2 separate regions of the Homo sapiens genome follow, and region 1 is linked to region 2. The links are contacts of gene promoters, found by promoter capture Hi-C in blood cells and fetal thymus (Javierre and others, 2016). All regions are on one chromosome and are shown on one strand. The core of a region is centred on a gene start or on the middle of the fragment in contact, and the rest is flanking DNA. Distances in the headings are between cores, read along the strand shown. Region 1 overlaps LINC02210-CRHR1 (LINC02210-CRHR1 readthrough). Region 2 holds the start of SPPL2C (signal peptide peptidase like 2C).

Region 1 (7,531 bases), core at 2,056-4,555, 160 kb after region 2:
TAATTTTTGTATTCTTAGTAGAGACAGGGTTTCACCATGTTGGTCAGGCTGGTCTCAAACTCCTGACCTCGTGAGCCTCTCACCTCGGCAGCCTCTCACCTCGGCCTCCCAAAGTGCTGGGATTATAGGCATGAGCCATCATGCCCAGCCTGGTTTATTTTCTAGAATTCTCCACTTAAGGTGCTTTCAAAGGGAAGTGTTGCATATGTTAACTGGCCATTCCCACTGTGGAACATGATCTGCTGTCATCTCTGACAATGGCACAGGAGAAAGGAGATAGGTGTGAGTTCCTGGAACCACCTAATCTGAAAACTGCATGAGAACTTGAGGCTCACGAGAGCTGCAAGGATAGAGCTGAGGCCCCCGGAAGCAGGAGGAACCCTTGTGGTTTGGAGAAGCACACAGCACGATGACAAAGTCAATGGTGAAATTTCAGTTCTGGCCAGGACCACAAGACTGGACTCTCCTTGGTCTCTGGGACTTCCTTAGAGTCGCCAAAATCATGCAGGGACAGTGGCAGCCAGGCTGACTGTAGAAGCTTAGAAGGCCATGTTGGCCTCACATGCCTAGTGGCATGAAAAGATTAGGGGATAGAAATAGAAGAAACATTCAGAAATGTTTCTATGGTTCAATGCCACTCGGACATAACCACTGGCACCATTCCCTATCAATTCAGCAAACCCCCATCACCAAAAGAACTCACATCCCAGGATTAAATAGGGCGGACCATTACTAAGAGAGGGGAAGGAAGGAATTTGATGTTTTGTCTTATGAAGTTCTATCTGGTGATGGCATCCCCCACTCCGCCCGCCGCAGGAGCCCTTGTGTATACATAGCCATCTCGTCAACATGTGAAGGCCTCGGGTGGCATCAGGGCTCTCTTGATGTTTCGGTGCCAGACATACTGCTCAGGCTTACACGCGTCTTCCCCAGCTTCCAGAATGTAGCCATCAAAGAAGGGAGCATACCAAGACTGCATAAACCCTAACTGTCAGGAAAGTAAAGAACTCCACCTCTAGCTATCTAAACCCCAATCGCAAAAGGACACAATGAAATGTGGTGAAAAAGAACTGAAGGCCAGGTGCGGGGGCTCACGCCTGTAATCCTAACACTTTGGGAGGCCAAAGCAGGAGGACTGCTTGATCCCAGGAGATGGAGACCAACCTGGACAACATAGAGGGACCCTGTCTCCACAAAAATGAAAATAAAAATAAATTAGCTGGGCCTGGTGGCTCATGCCTGCAGTCCCAAGTACTTGGGAGACTGAGGCTAGAGGATCATTTGAGTCTGTGAGATTACAGCTGCAATAAGCCATGACTGCACCATTGCACTCCAGCCTAGGCAACAAAACAAACCTGTCTTCAAAAAACGAAAAGAAAAGAAAAAAGAAATGGAGACATTAGTGAGTGTTATCAGCTATAATGTGAGACACTCTCTAGGAGAATAAAAGGGGGAGGGATCAGGCCACACTGAGGAGGTAGCCTGGAGTATCTGTTGCTCCTTGTAAACTTAGGCAGTCTGCCGTAAATTTCACCGTATTTCCAGAAGCTGGAAACCATCATTCTCGGCAAACTATCGTAAGGACAAAAAAACCAAACACCGCATGTTCTCACTCACAGGTGGGAATTGAACAATGAGAACACACGGACCAGGAAGGGGAACATCACACACCGGGGACTGTTGTGGGGTAGGGGGAGTGGGGAGGGATAGCATTAGGAGATATACCTAATGCTAAATGACGAGTTAATGGGTGCAGCACACCAACGTGGCACATGTATACATGTGTAACAAACCTGCACGTTGTGCACATGTACCCTAGAACTTAAAGTATAATAATAATAAAATTTAAAAAAAAAGAAAGAAAAGAAAACACATACATTAGCTAAATTCTGAGGCCCAAGACGAACCTTGGTGCATCATTATATAAAACTAATAAAAGTGGAAACTTGTGTTTAAAAAAAAAAGAAAAAAGAAAAGAAGCTCCCCTTGAAGCTTCAGCTACAGGAAGGAACAGCAATTACTAAAAGTGCTTTCAAATCTCTCTCACCATAATCCCAGCATGACAAAGACCTGGCCCTATCCACCAAAACTTTTCAAAGCTCTCCATTTTCCTTTAGAAGACCGTCTTAGTTTTATAATGGAATTTTTAAAAAAATGTGACTCACACTATGAATAGTTTCTTTATAGCCAGCTCTCTTGGAATGGGTCTGTTATCAAAGTGAAGACTATCTGTCTCCTACTTCATGGTAACAAATTGCTCTTCCAACAAGATCATTGACATGAACCCAGACATACGTCCCAGCCTCAAGGATTTTTGGCTTTTGAACCATCACCACTGTTATAGGTTTGGACTTTGACATTCCTAAATTGATTTTTCTTCACCAAATCTGGACTTTTTCACATCCACTGGCAAATATGTTGGGATGTCATGAGGTGACATAAACTACCAGCCAGCAGCCCCATTTTTGAAGTATCTCTATTCCACTTGGCTCATATTGTATAGCCTGTTGATGCAATTGTTTGAATATGTTGTTGTGTTTATTGATAGTAAAAATGAGCAAAAATGGAAAATTTAAAGTATAGGTACTAGGTAATAAACAAGAAAGGGTCTCAAAAAGTTAATATAATTAAAATTAAAATGAGGCCAGGCACAGTGGCTCATGCCTGTAATCCCAGCACTTTGGGATGCTGAGGCGGGAGGATCACCTCAGGTCAGGAGTTTTGAGACCAGCCGGGCCAACATGGCAAAATTTGGCTTTTACTAAAAAATGCAAAAATTAACTGGGCATGGTGGCACACCTGTGGCCTCAGTTACTTGGGAGGCCGAGGCAGGAGATTCTCTTGAACCTGAGAGGCAGAGGCTGCAGTGAGCTGAGATCGTGCCACTGCACTCCAGCCTGGCCAATACAGCAAGACTGTCTCAAAAAATTAATTAATTAATTAATTAAAAATAAAAATAAAAAATGAAAGTTGTTTTCATTTTAGCCCAGTGTTCATTTAACTCAAGTTGGTTGACTGGATTCATGTGTGAGGGGTAAAATAGTTGTTCTTTTTTAGGGTCTCACTGTCACCCAGGCTGGAGTGATGTGACATGATCATGGCCTACGCAGCCTTGACCTCCTGGGTTCCAGTGATCTTCTACCTCAGCCTCCCAAGTAGCTGGGACTTACAGGCTTGTGCCACCACACCTGGCTAACTTTTTACTTTTTTTTTTTGTAGAGATGGCGGTCTCACTATTTTGCCCAGGCTGGTCTCAAACTTCTGGGCTCAAGCAATCCTCCCACCTCAGCCTCCCAAAGTGCTGAGATTACAGGCTTGAGCTACTGCACTCAGCCAGAAAATAAGGCCTTAGAAATAAATTATAAGTGATCAATGTTCTTAGAAGCAAAATATAATTAGGGAGTTGTCATTATTTTTAGCTGAGTATAGAATCCACCTTAAAACATAAAATAATAATTATTAACATATTCAGTGCATACGACCCTGTTCTGAGCGCTTTATATATATATTACTTAATTTGCACAAGAACCCTATAAGGTGGTTTCTATAATCATTCCGTCTTTCAGAAAACTGAGGCACAGAGAGGTCTCAGCCACACACCTAGGAAGTGGCAGATTTATGCCCGTGTAGGTAGGTCACTGTCCACATTCTTAACCGCCAGGCTCTCCTCCTTCTTGCATAGTGTAAGATTATTATCTAACTTTGATACATTTATATTCTTAGACATTTTCAGGAACTTATTATATGTGAAAAAAAAATGGCTGGGTGCAGTGGCTCATGCCTGTAATCCCAGCACTTTGGGAGGCCGAGGCGGGCACATCGCAAGGTCAGGAGTTCGAGACCAGTGTGGCCAACATGGTGAAACCCCGTCTCTACTAAAAATACAAAAAATTAGCAGGGCGTGGTGGTGGGTACCTGTAATCCCAGCTACTCGGGAGGCTGAGACAGGAGAATTACTTGAACCCGGGAGGAGGAGGTTGCAATGAGCTGAGATTGCGCCACTGCACTCCAGCCTGGGTGACAGAGCGAGACTCCATCTAAAATAATAATAAGAAGAAGACAAAGTTGTACTGGGATAGGACAGTCTTTGGGGAAGCCATTTCTCTTTGCTGCTTAGCTTTTGTGAACATGCTGTGGTCAGCTTTCAGACCTCAGGTTAAAGACGGATTGAGGAGGAATTTAGGTGAGATCAAGATAGAAGTCATCTTGCCATGATCAGAGTCATTAGCTTGTGAACAACCCTATTTATACTTAAGGTTAGGAGGCTGAGTTCTGTTCTGGGAAACACACTAAAACTCCTGCACAAGGCAGAAGCCCTCGTGTTTGAAACAAAAGAAAACATCTTTGGAAAGGGGCTGCTCAGATGCAAGATGTTTGCATGGGATGGAGATTTACCTGTCACTGGGAACATTGTCAGTAGCCTGGAGTGTAGCTGTAACCCGACACTGATCCATTTGGATGCAGGGAAACTGAGGTCAGCCTAGGAGGAGAAGGATAGAGGATGTACCCACTGTGCCGATCTGATCTCAGATCTCCCTGAAGCAGGTTAGGTGTTAGAATTTCAAAGTGAAGAGGCGAGTGCTTCATCAGGATGGATGCTGACAGCCCTTAAGCTTGGAAACCAGATTTGCTGGGAGTAAACATCCAGGTGGGCCTAGACTGGAAAGCTGGTACCAAGTTAGTTAGACCATTTTATGGTTCGCAAAGCCTTTGAAAAGCGGCAAACACTCCAGAAAAAAATAAAAAAGTATTTGTGCATACAGCTGTAGATTTAAGACAGGCAATGCATCTCCTACCCTCAAACAAATCCATACCCCTCCCCAGGTTAAGAGCGCCTGCAGAGCGTGAGGGTATTTGGGATGTGAGCCATGAGCCGGGAAGGCTAAAAGGGCCGAGCAACATGGGTCACATGATCCGTCCTCTGGTTCAATGCCAGGTCCGGAAGGTTACAAAAGGTCTCCGCACCAGGCTATGCCTGTCAGAACCCCTCACAAGCTGTTCTCATTCACACTCACAGCATCTCTGTGAGAGGCATGGGGTGGCAACCTCATTCCTCCCATGGCCATTCAGGAAAAGGGAGAGCCAGATGCCTTGTCCATCTGTCCATCCTGGGGCCTGCCCTCCCTGCCTGTCCCCACACCTTGCCCCTCAGGCTGGGCAGACACCCCATCCATCTGCCTTTCCTCTACTTCTAGTGTGGGAGGTGGGTGGAGGGGAGTCAGGGTGTCTACAGATGGGGTTTCAGTTTGAGGAGGCCTGGGGACCCAAAATTCAAACCACTTAGGAAGAGGCTGCTGTGAAAAGGGATGGTGCGGTGTAGGGCCCAGGAAAGAGCTTGGAGGGCCCTGAATAGCAGGATGAGGGGCCAGGTTCCTCACAAACAGGACCAAAGAGCCTGTGGAGGTTCTTCAGGGAGAGGGTGGAGCAGGATGAGGGTGGAGTTGCAGGAGGCTCCAGGCAGCCCCTCGACTGTCCTGCAAGCACAGGCTAATGGAGGCTGTTGGCCATGGCTATGGTAGAAGCTGTGGTTGGGAGAGAGGTGGCAGGGGAGTGTCCCATCAAAGCATGGAGCTGTGGAGAGGGAGGCATCCCAGAGTGGGCTCTGCCCCCACCTGCAGAAGGGGGTGTGGAGGAAGGGCTTCAGATGCCAAGTGCAATGCCCCAGGCCCCGGGAGAGGGGCAGGATCTTCTGATGCCGCTGAGCAGTAGCTTCCCGAGGCTGCCCCAGGTGCTTGTGTCCAGCCCTGTGCACTCCTGATCTGACTCTCCCAGGAAGGTGCCTCCTGCTGAGCTCTGGGTGACAAGATGGAGTCAACATGCATTACCCCAAGCACGTTTCTTTTTCTGTTTTTTTTTTTTTTTTTTTTTTGAGACAGGGTCTCGCTCTGTTACCCGGGCTGAAGTGTAGTGGCATGATTATGGTTCATAGTAGCCTCAATCTCTTTAAGTCAAGCAATCCTCCTGCCTCAGCCTCCCAAGTAGCCGGGACCATAGGCATGGCACTATGTGCAGCTTTTTTTTTTTTTTTTTTTTTTTTAGTAGAGACAAGGACCCCCATGTTGCCCAGGCTGGTCTTGAACTCCTGGCCTCAAGCAATCCTCCCTCCTCAGCTTCCCAAAAACCTAGGATTACAGGCATGAGCCACTGCACCTGACCTTGAGCACATGTTTCTTGGACAAGTGCCAGCTGTTGGCATCTGTGTGGCTACAGAGCAGGAATCAGGACGGAGGTGAAGAGAGGGGCAAGGCCAAGGGCAGGGGTGATGTTGGTGTCATTGCAAACAGACCTGGGCACACATGTCTGTGAGGGAGAATCAGGAGATGGTATTGCTGAAGGAAGCTACACGTTTGCACAGGAGCTCTTAAAGCCAAGCTGTCACATCCTCATCCTTGGCTCACTAGATCTTTAGCAGACAGAGCTGACCTACCCTGGGGCACCCTACAGGGCAAAGGCTATGAGAGCAGGGTTCACACACCTTACTTAGAGAATCCAGGGCCAGAGAGCACCAGGTTCAACCTTCTCATCAATATGCATGCAGTCGGCTCAAGTTCTATGCAAGCCCCAAAAGCGGTGGGTCTTGCCCAAAAATCACTGAGATCATCAAGACAGCATCAAGAGTGGGAAAGTATGGACCAGAGCAGACAGACTGGGCTCAAATCCTGGCTGTGCCACCGATGAGCTCGGCAACCTTGGTCACATGACCTGACCTATCTGAGCCCCAGTTTCCTGACATGGACAACAGGGGTAATAGCACTAACAGTAAATGGAAGGACACACATCCAAGCACTGCACTCCATCCTGACAAATGCTGGTTCTCTGTCCAGGTCTTTGGGTACCACGCCTGCCTCAGTCCTCTCACCTACCCACTCAGCTTGTCGATGAAGGCTGTGGCTCCTGACTTGTGTATTAGTTTCCCATCATTGCATTTAAAAAATGACCCACAACTTAGTAGCTTAAAACAACAAACGTTTGGTATCTCACAGCTTCTGTGAATCAGAGATTCAGCAGCAGCTTGGCTGGGTGGTTCTGGCTTAGGGTCTCTAATGAGGTTGCAGACAAAACATTGGCCTGGGCTGCAGTTCTCCGAAGGCTTGACTGGGGATGGTGGTTCGGCTTCCAAGATGGCTTATTCCCACAGCTCTTGGCAAAAGGCCTCGTTTCTTTGCTAGCTATTGGCAGGAGGCTTCAGTTTCTCACCATCTCTCCACTGGGTTGCTTGAGTATCCTCACAACATGGCAGCTGGCTTTCCCTTGCAGTGAGTAATCCAGGAAAGAGAAGGAAGCCATGGTGCCTTTCATGACCTAGTCTCAGAAGTCACATATTCTTGTTTCTACTTTCTGCATTAGAAGGAAGTCACTGAGTCCACCCACACTCAAGGAGAGGAAAATTAGGCTCTGCCACTTCAGGAAGGAGGCTCAACGAATTTTTAGACATATTATGAAACCATCACAACTTGAAACAAATGTCCTCTCCAGTGACTTTTGGCTTTTCTTACATAGAACAGAAACAAATGGGCTAGGGACCCTTGGC
Region 2 (6,858 bases), core at 4,215-6,714:
CATCTCCTCCTGGCCCAGCCAAGACAAGAGGCTGAAGCCAAACTCTAAAGGTGTTCACCCTGGGGTGGGGGTGGGGGTCCCTCAAAATGGTTGATGCCTGGTCCCACCCCAGACCTGTCAACTCAGAATCGGTGGGGCCAGGAATCCAGATTTTTGGCAGGTGCCCCAATGATTCTGACCTGCAGCCGTGCTTGGGTGCCTCTTTCTAAACCCTCAAGCTGCCTCTAGACCCAGAGTCCTTGCCCAGCCCCATCTGTGAAATGGGCAGAGTTGCTGCAGAGTATTCTTGGGAGGAAGAAGAAAGGTCCTGCCCATCACCTGCCTCCAGCCCCGTCTCCACACTTGTTTCCTGAGCAGGGCAGAAGAGCTTGGAGGATGTAGGGGTGTGTGGGGGGACTCACATAGTTTTTCCAGTTCACACGTAGAAGGCAGCTGTCCCTGTGTCTTAGCTTGGGCTCCCTGGGAATGAACCTCAGGAGCATGCTGGGTGGGAGGTGCTGGGCAGTGGTCTCAGGGGAGATGCTTGCGAGGGAGTGAGGTCTGCAGGAAGGTGAGGATGAAGCTGGGCCTCGGGGCCGGTTGGCTGGGGCCCCAGTGAGCCCTCGGGAGCTCTGGAGCTGGGGTGTCCTTCATAGAGGTCCCCGACATTGGTCAGTCCTGGCTGTGGCCACACTAGGGAACCAGCAGGGGGAGGGGGTGGTGAAACTTAGGTGACTAGGACGAATTCCCAGTGAGAAGCAGAGCTGAGAGCTACCTGGGCACTGTGATGCCACTGCACCCTGGGCTGCTGTCCACCCCAGGCCTGGCCTTGGGACCCTGTGAGCACCTCAGTTCTGCTGCCCAAGCACAGTGCAGCAAGCTGGGGGTTGGGGAAGAGGGATGGAGGCAGCAGATCCAGGCCGTGTGGGCCCTCACCTCCCCATCAGGTCTGGATGCCGGGAAGGGGGAGGCCTCCTGACCCAGACCCTCCCTGAATCCCCTCTCCTTGGAGGTAGGCATTGGCCTCCCTGCAGGCCTGCGGAGCTCCAGGCCTGCATCCTCAGAGCCCTCAGACTGGATTTCTGGGAAAGAGAAGTTCCTTTATCCTGACCTCCTGCTTTGGGGGATGTGGGGGCCAGGGAGCCCAGGAGGCCTCGGCTCTGTCCAGCCCTTCCCATCGGGCCTGGCAGAGGGTGCAGCTGCCCTCGGCAGGCCCCGTGACGCAGGCCAGCAGCAGGGAGGCTGCCCAGGCTGGGGCTGAGCCAGGGCCTGCGGAGGGCCCTCTGTCCAGGCCAGATGGCCACTGCTCCGGTGGGAGGGGCTGCCAACACCTCCGCAGTGGCCTGGCCGGGTTCTCCAAGCTTCCCTTGTCTAGCGGGCCTTCAGCTGCTGTGTACCGAGAGGCTGCACTTCTTCCCTGGCAAGCGGGGCTTTGAGAGGCCCACCACCTGCACTGCCTCCCTGGGACTCTCTCCCCACTCCAGGGCCCAGCCAGGCCTGCCAAGTCTCACGTCAACACTGACCAAGGTCCTGCAGGAAGCCTGTGAGGTGGCCTGGGCAGTGGGGCCTTCCCTCATAGCATTCCCTCCTCTGCAGTTCAGGCTGGTCAACTCCTCATTCATTCATTCATTCATTCATCCATCCGTTCATTCCTCCAGCAAATACATCAAGCACCTGTAACACTCCAGGGGCTGTTCTGAGCCCTGAAATTACACAGATGAACAAGATGGGCAAGGCCCCTGCCCTTCCAAAGCTGGCCCTCTACCGGGGAAGATCGGAAAACTAAAGGTGCCTGGTCGTGTGATTGAGACAGGGATGCTTTAGGAAAGGCTGCGAAGAGGAGCAGCCAGCCAGGCCAAGTTCACGGGGCGTGGTAAGGAAGGGGCAGAAAGAGAGTTCCAAGAAGAGGAAAAAGCATGGGGGGTGTGGTGGGTCTGGCGTGTGCTTGTGGCGGTAGGGGTTTGGAGGGGTGGAAGAGGGCCGTTGGGCTGGGACCTCAAGGTCTTGTAGGAGCTGGGTTTGAGTCTGTGAGGCTTTCACTAGGGGAGCAATATAAACATAGCTCACGTGCAGGGGGCTCTTCGGACAGGCAGGGCATTGTGCCAATCACCTGACATAGGCCAACTCGTTCAAACTTCCTAAGAACCAGATGGTAGGTCCTATTATCCCATTTCACACACAAGAAAACAGAGGCACTGAATGGATAAGTCATTTGCTCAGTGAGATACTCCAAGTCAGTGGTAGGGCTGGGATTTGTGGTAGGCAGCCTGGCTGTAGAACCCTAACCACTGAACCACACCGCCTCTTGGGATACACTTTCCTCCCCTCCAAAAACACCTCCTCCAGGAAGCCTTCTCACCCCAGAGTTTGTCTGCTCTGATTAAGCAACACATCAGCACCCTACATGGCCTAAAAGCCTGTAGAGTCCTTAGGAGGTCATCTCGTCCATGCCCCTGCCTCCAGATGGAAATGGTATTATAAGTCTCATTTTGCAGATGAGACTACAGAGACCCAACGAGGCTTGAACATTACTTAGAGTCAGTGAGGGAGGCCTTGGTCTCCGGAATTCTTCCACCCTGGGCCCAACCTCTCCAACCCCTCCCGACCTCTTTGAGACAATTCTAAGTTTGTTTCTTGTCTGCCCACCCCTCCCCCTCCCCCAGCTAGACAGAGGCCTTCCCTGTGCCCACCACATGGCGATGCACATAGTAGGGGCATACTCAATGCCTGAAGATGGAATGGGTGGTGCATACAGGAACTTGCTGGGCTTGGTGCTGCTGCCTGGGATTCTTGAACAGAGACGTTTTGCAGAATGGATGTGAGCTGAGGAGTAAAGGATGCTTCGGAATCTTCTAGTGAGTCAGGGAGCCAGGCTGGAGTGTTTCTGTCTGGAGAGGGAAGGGCATCCCAGCTGGAGGGAACAGCATATGCAGAGAGAGCGGGTGGGGAGGACAAGGAGTTCTGTTTGACCTGAGCATGGAGAGAAGATGGGCAATGAGCCTAGGGTGGGTGGCAGGGATGGGATGGGGGCTGTGTGCCAGGCTAAGAAGCTGCCACTCTGGATTGGGAAGGGGTTGGGCAAGCAGGCAGAGGGGAGTAGCTGCCCAGTGAGCCCTGGATGCAAATCCCGACCTTGCCGCTTGAACTTGTGCAAGTCATAGGCCCTCTTGGAGCCTCAGTTTCCCCCCTTCATTATTTGGGGGTGGTGCCCACTCCTAAGGACCCTTCGAGCCCTGCACACTCTTATTATGTGGTTGCTGCTCTCTTGCACTCCCGACAAACAGAGAGACTCCTTGGGTAGATATGAAATCTCTTTGATACCCTGATTTCTTGTTGCCATGCATGGCTTTGCTCTGCAATGTTCCACCAGCCCTTTGAGAGGCGTGTGTCCCAGTGCCTCCAGTTCACAAGGGAGCCTGGGTCGACATGCTCTTTCTTACTTTCAAACCCTTCCTCTTGTGGAGTCCCGCCCAGGGCAGGCCAGTCTCGTGGGCCTGGGCCTGGGCATGGACATGGCCCAGCTCTGAGGGCGGGGGCATCAGGGGCATGAGTGGGATCAGCATGGCCATTGGCATCAGTGGCATCAGCTCCTCCGAGGCCCCAGGGGGGATGAAGGGCAGCTCATTAGGATCCAAGTGGGCGTCACTCCAGCCCTCGGAGCTATCACTGCGGTCCTCTGGATTGGTGGCTTCATTCTCAGATATGGTGACAATCTCAGTGGTGTCTTCTCCAGGGTTGCTGTCTAAGTCCCCTGCTCCTCGGCTGGTGCCTCTCTCAAGTGTGCTGGCTGTGTGGGCATCTGCTGCGCCCTCCTGCTTCTGCCTAGAGCCAGCTGAAGGGGCACAGCCGAGCCCACACATCTTAGCTCTGCCCTGGCCAGTCCAGAAGAGGCTGAGCTCTTGGCGGCAGGCAGCCACAGCCAGGCTGGTGAGCAGGGTGCTGGACACTAGGTAGAGCAAGGCAGGTTGGCCCATCTGCATGAGGACCATGGCCATGAATGTGACCAGCAGGCCCACAGCATAGGCCACGGTGCAGGCCACGAAGTAGATCTGACGGGAGCAGACTTGCACATCAAAGCGGCAACAGTAAGCAACCAGGAAGCCGGGGACCACAATGTCACCGAAGCCAAGGATGGAGAAGGGCTGGCTGCACAGGGTCAAGGCGGAGACTCTTAGCCGGGGCACTTTGAGTACCATGGGCAGCCTCTCATGGCTTGAAGACTCTGCAGGGCCCAAGGCAACCTGCGCCATGATGCTCTCACCGGTTTTGGTGAAGAAGGGGGTGACGAAGACAAAGAAGACATCAAAGGCCAGCAGGGCCAGCAGGAAGGAGGAGCAGTTCTTGAGAGTGGGCAGCCGCACACGGTGCAGGACGAACAGGCAGTAGGAAATGCCCAGTGTGTCCTGCAGGAGCCACGCCCAGCGGTCCTCATTGCGGTAGGCCACCCAGAAGATGATCACGGTTGCGCACAGGCTCGCCAGCAGCAGCAGAGGCAGCGGCAGAGAGGCCCAGAGGCTGTGCGGAGGCCTCTGGTATTGCCGCAGGGACAGGCGGCACACCAGGGGTGACAGGCAGCTGTAGAGGCCAATGCCAGCACCCAGGCCAAAGATCCCAATGGTGACATAGACAAAGTGGTCATAGAAGAAGTAGAGCAGCAGCATGAGCGAGCAGGACAGGGTGACCACCACGCCTGTCATGGCCGGCGTGAAGTCCACTGGGATGTCCTCATTATCTTCCTTCTGGGCTCCCTCAGCTGCTGCAGCTTCCTGCAGCTGATGGTGACCACCAGACCCCCCTCCTCTTCGGGCACGGCGCCGCTGTAGCCGGTTGGCTTCGGTCAGGCCGGCCCAGTAGCCGCCTGCAGCCACTGTGCCCACAGCCAGGATGAAGATGACCAGCATGTTGTAGTCGATGATGGGCTCTGGGGGTGCGTACATGGCCACGCGGACGACGGCCTCCCCACGAGTGTGGCTGAGGATGTCCAGCATGTCAGCATAGTGGAGCATAGCCACAGGGATGGTGAGGTCTGCCAGGGGCTGGCGGGGATCCTGGGGTGCCAGGGTGGTGTCTGAGCACTGTTGGTCACTGACCCGGCTCACGATGAGCAGCCCGTGGGCACCTTGGCCCTGAGCCAGCCAGCCTTTCGTGTGGAAGCTGCAGTTACCCCTCATGACCATGGCAGTGGTCTGGCGGAGGGGCCGCTGGCTGGGGGAGCGGAGCTGGGCCTGGTGGGGGGAATCCTCACCCGGGCACCAGGGTGCCTTGGTGCCATCATACAGGGGCAGGAGTGGGGCGTGGTGCAGGTCCCGGGGGAGGGTGATGTAGTCGGAGCTGAACAGGATACAGTAGTCCTTGCTCCAATTCTCCGACACCACGTGGGCCACGCCGTACTTTCCCCCGGCCACGGTGCTGATGAGGAGGAGGAAGCCCACGGGGAGGAGGAAGCCCAGGCACGCCATCTTCTTCAGTTCCTACTGCAACATCTGCGGGCGGCAGCCCAATACCCCTCCCAGGGGCAGGCGTGGCCCTTTGTCACAGAGCAGTCTGGCCACCTGTCCTGGAAACCAGGGCCACACCTACCTAGTCATAAAGCTGTGTGGTCCCCAGCCGAGGGCGCTGCTGTGGGGCACAGGGTCCCTCTAGAATGATGCCCCCCAACCCTGGGAGACCAGGGGAGAGGTCATATGGACCCTGCTCTCTGCCCAGACCCTAGTGGGTTTAGACCAGGTACTTTGAAATAAAAGGTGTGAGCATGGGGTTTGCAGGCCAGATAGGATTCTGAACCAACTTTTCTCCTTACCCATGGGGAACACAGGCCAATGTCACTCCTCTCTAGGCCTGTTTCTTTAGCTGTAAAGAAATGAGGACGTTGGGCCAGAGAGTTTCTAAGGTCCCTTGGAGCTCTGAGCTCAGTAACATTGAGCACTTTTACCGAGGGCTTACTAGGCGCCAGGTACCCTAGCTGTACCTATTGCACAGTTGCAAGGAGGTGTCATTATATCTGCACAGCCTGAGGCTGTCCCTCAAAGTTGGTCCCCATTTCTACCAGGCACATGACCAGAATTCACCTCCAACTCCATTTACAGTTGGGAACGGACAGGTGACCAGGAGAAATTAAGCAAAAATGATGTGAACTCTTTACATCAGGGGCTTAGGCTGACAGACCGTGGGGCTCCTGGTTTACCCTCTCTTTCCCTTTCTCAGGAGTCAGAACAAGGACGGGCCTGTGATGTGTCTGTCTATGACGAGGAGGACAATGTCCTAAGGAATGGAGAGGAAGAAAGTGAAGGGAACCAGGTCCCTGGATTCCATGTGGAACAGTAGCCCAGGATGTGCACTATGGACTGTTACAAGAGAGAGACATGATCTTCCTTAAGGCATTGATTTGTCATGAGTCTCTTTGTTATAGCCACTTAACGTTACCTTAATACACCCACTTCATGGATAAGTAAAACTGAGGCTTGGAGAAGCCCACATTGACACAGCAAAGAAGGCTGGGGCTCTTGTGCTGGTTAAATGGACCTTGATGTCTTCCAAATGTTTTCATGCTGGATTCTGAGCCACTCTCCTGGCTGCAACTCTGAGGCCGGGCAGACTTTCCGCTGGAAAGAGAACTCAAATACTGGTGAGAGGTGGATTTGAAGCCAGGAGCCCCAGGTTTTGGCTCTGCAGGTTTGCACCCAGCTCTGTGGTGTATGCCCTCACAGGTCACCCAGGACCTCCTGTCCAGGCTTCTTCAGGCCACCCATGATGGAGTAGATTTGAGGAATGAGGTTTTCAAAGCAGTTAGTGTGCGGGAGAGTAACCCTGGGGCCTCCGGAACCAGAAGGGAGGGATTTGGGGGCTGGAGCTTGGCAGTCCAGGTTCCATTGTCCTCAT

Evidence for each region. The method cuts DNA at HindIII sites, captures the fragments that hold promoters and counts their contacts. A CHiCAGO score of 5 or more calls a contact.
Region 1: a contact is called between a fragment that was not itself captured here and the fragment with the promoter of SPPL2C in region 2, in 5 of 17 cell types (megakaryocytes, M0 macrophages, endothelial precursors and 2 more). The highest score is 7.4, in megakaryocytes.

Annotation. Positions count from the first base shown.
Region 1 is chr17:45,679,236-45,686,766 of GRCh38, reverse strand. The region is part of intron 3 of LINC02210-CRHR1 (LINC02210-CRHR1 readthrough); the gene reads right to left. Among named protein-coding and RNA genes, the nearest start is that of LINC02210-CRHR1, 63 kb to the right of the region's middle. The HindIII fragment of the contact is 2,621 bases long and covers 1,995-4,615 here.
Region 2 is chr17:45,843,487-45,850,344 of GRCh38, reverse strand. It overlaps SPPL2C (signal peptide peptidase like 2C), which reads right to left and starts at 5,464. Exons shown (of 1, transcript NM_175882.3): 1 at 3,278-5,464. The coding sequence starts at 5,438. The coding sequence ends at 3,384. MAPT-AS1 (MAPT antisense RNA 1) reads left to right here. Exons shown (of 2, transcript NR_024559.1): 2 at 6,184-6,858. RefSeq lists enhancers at 3,574-4,557, 4,558-5,542. The HindIII fragment of the contact is 7,159 bases long and covers 1,343-6,858 here.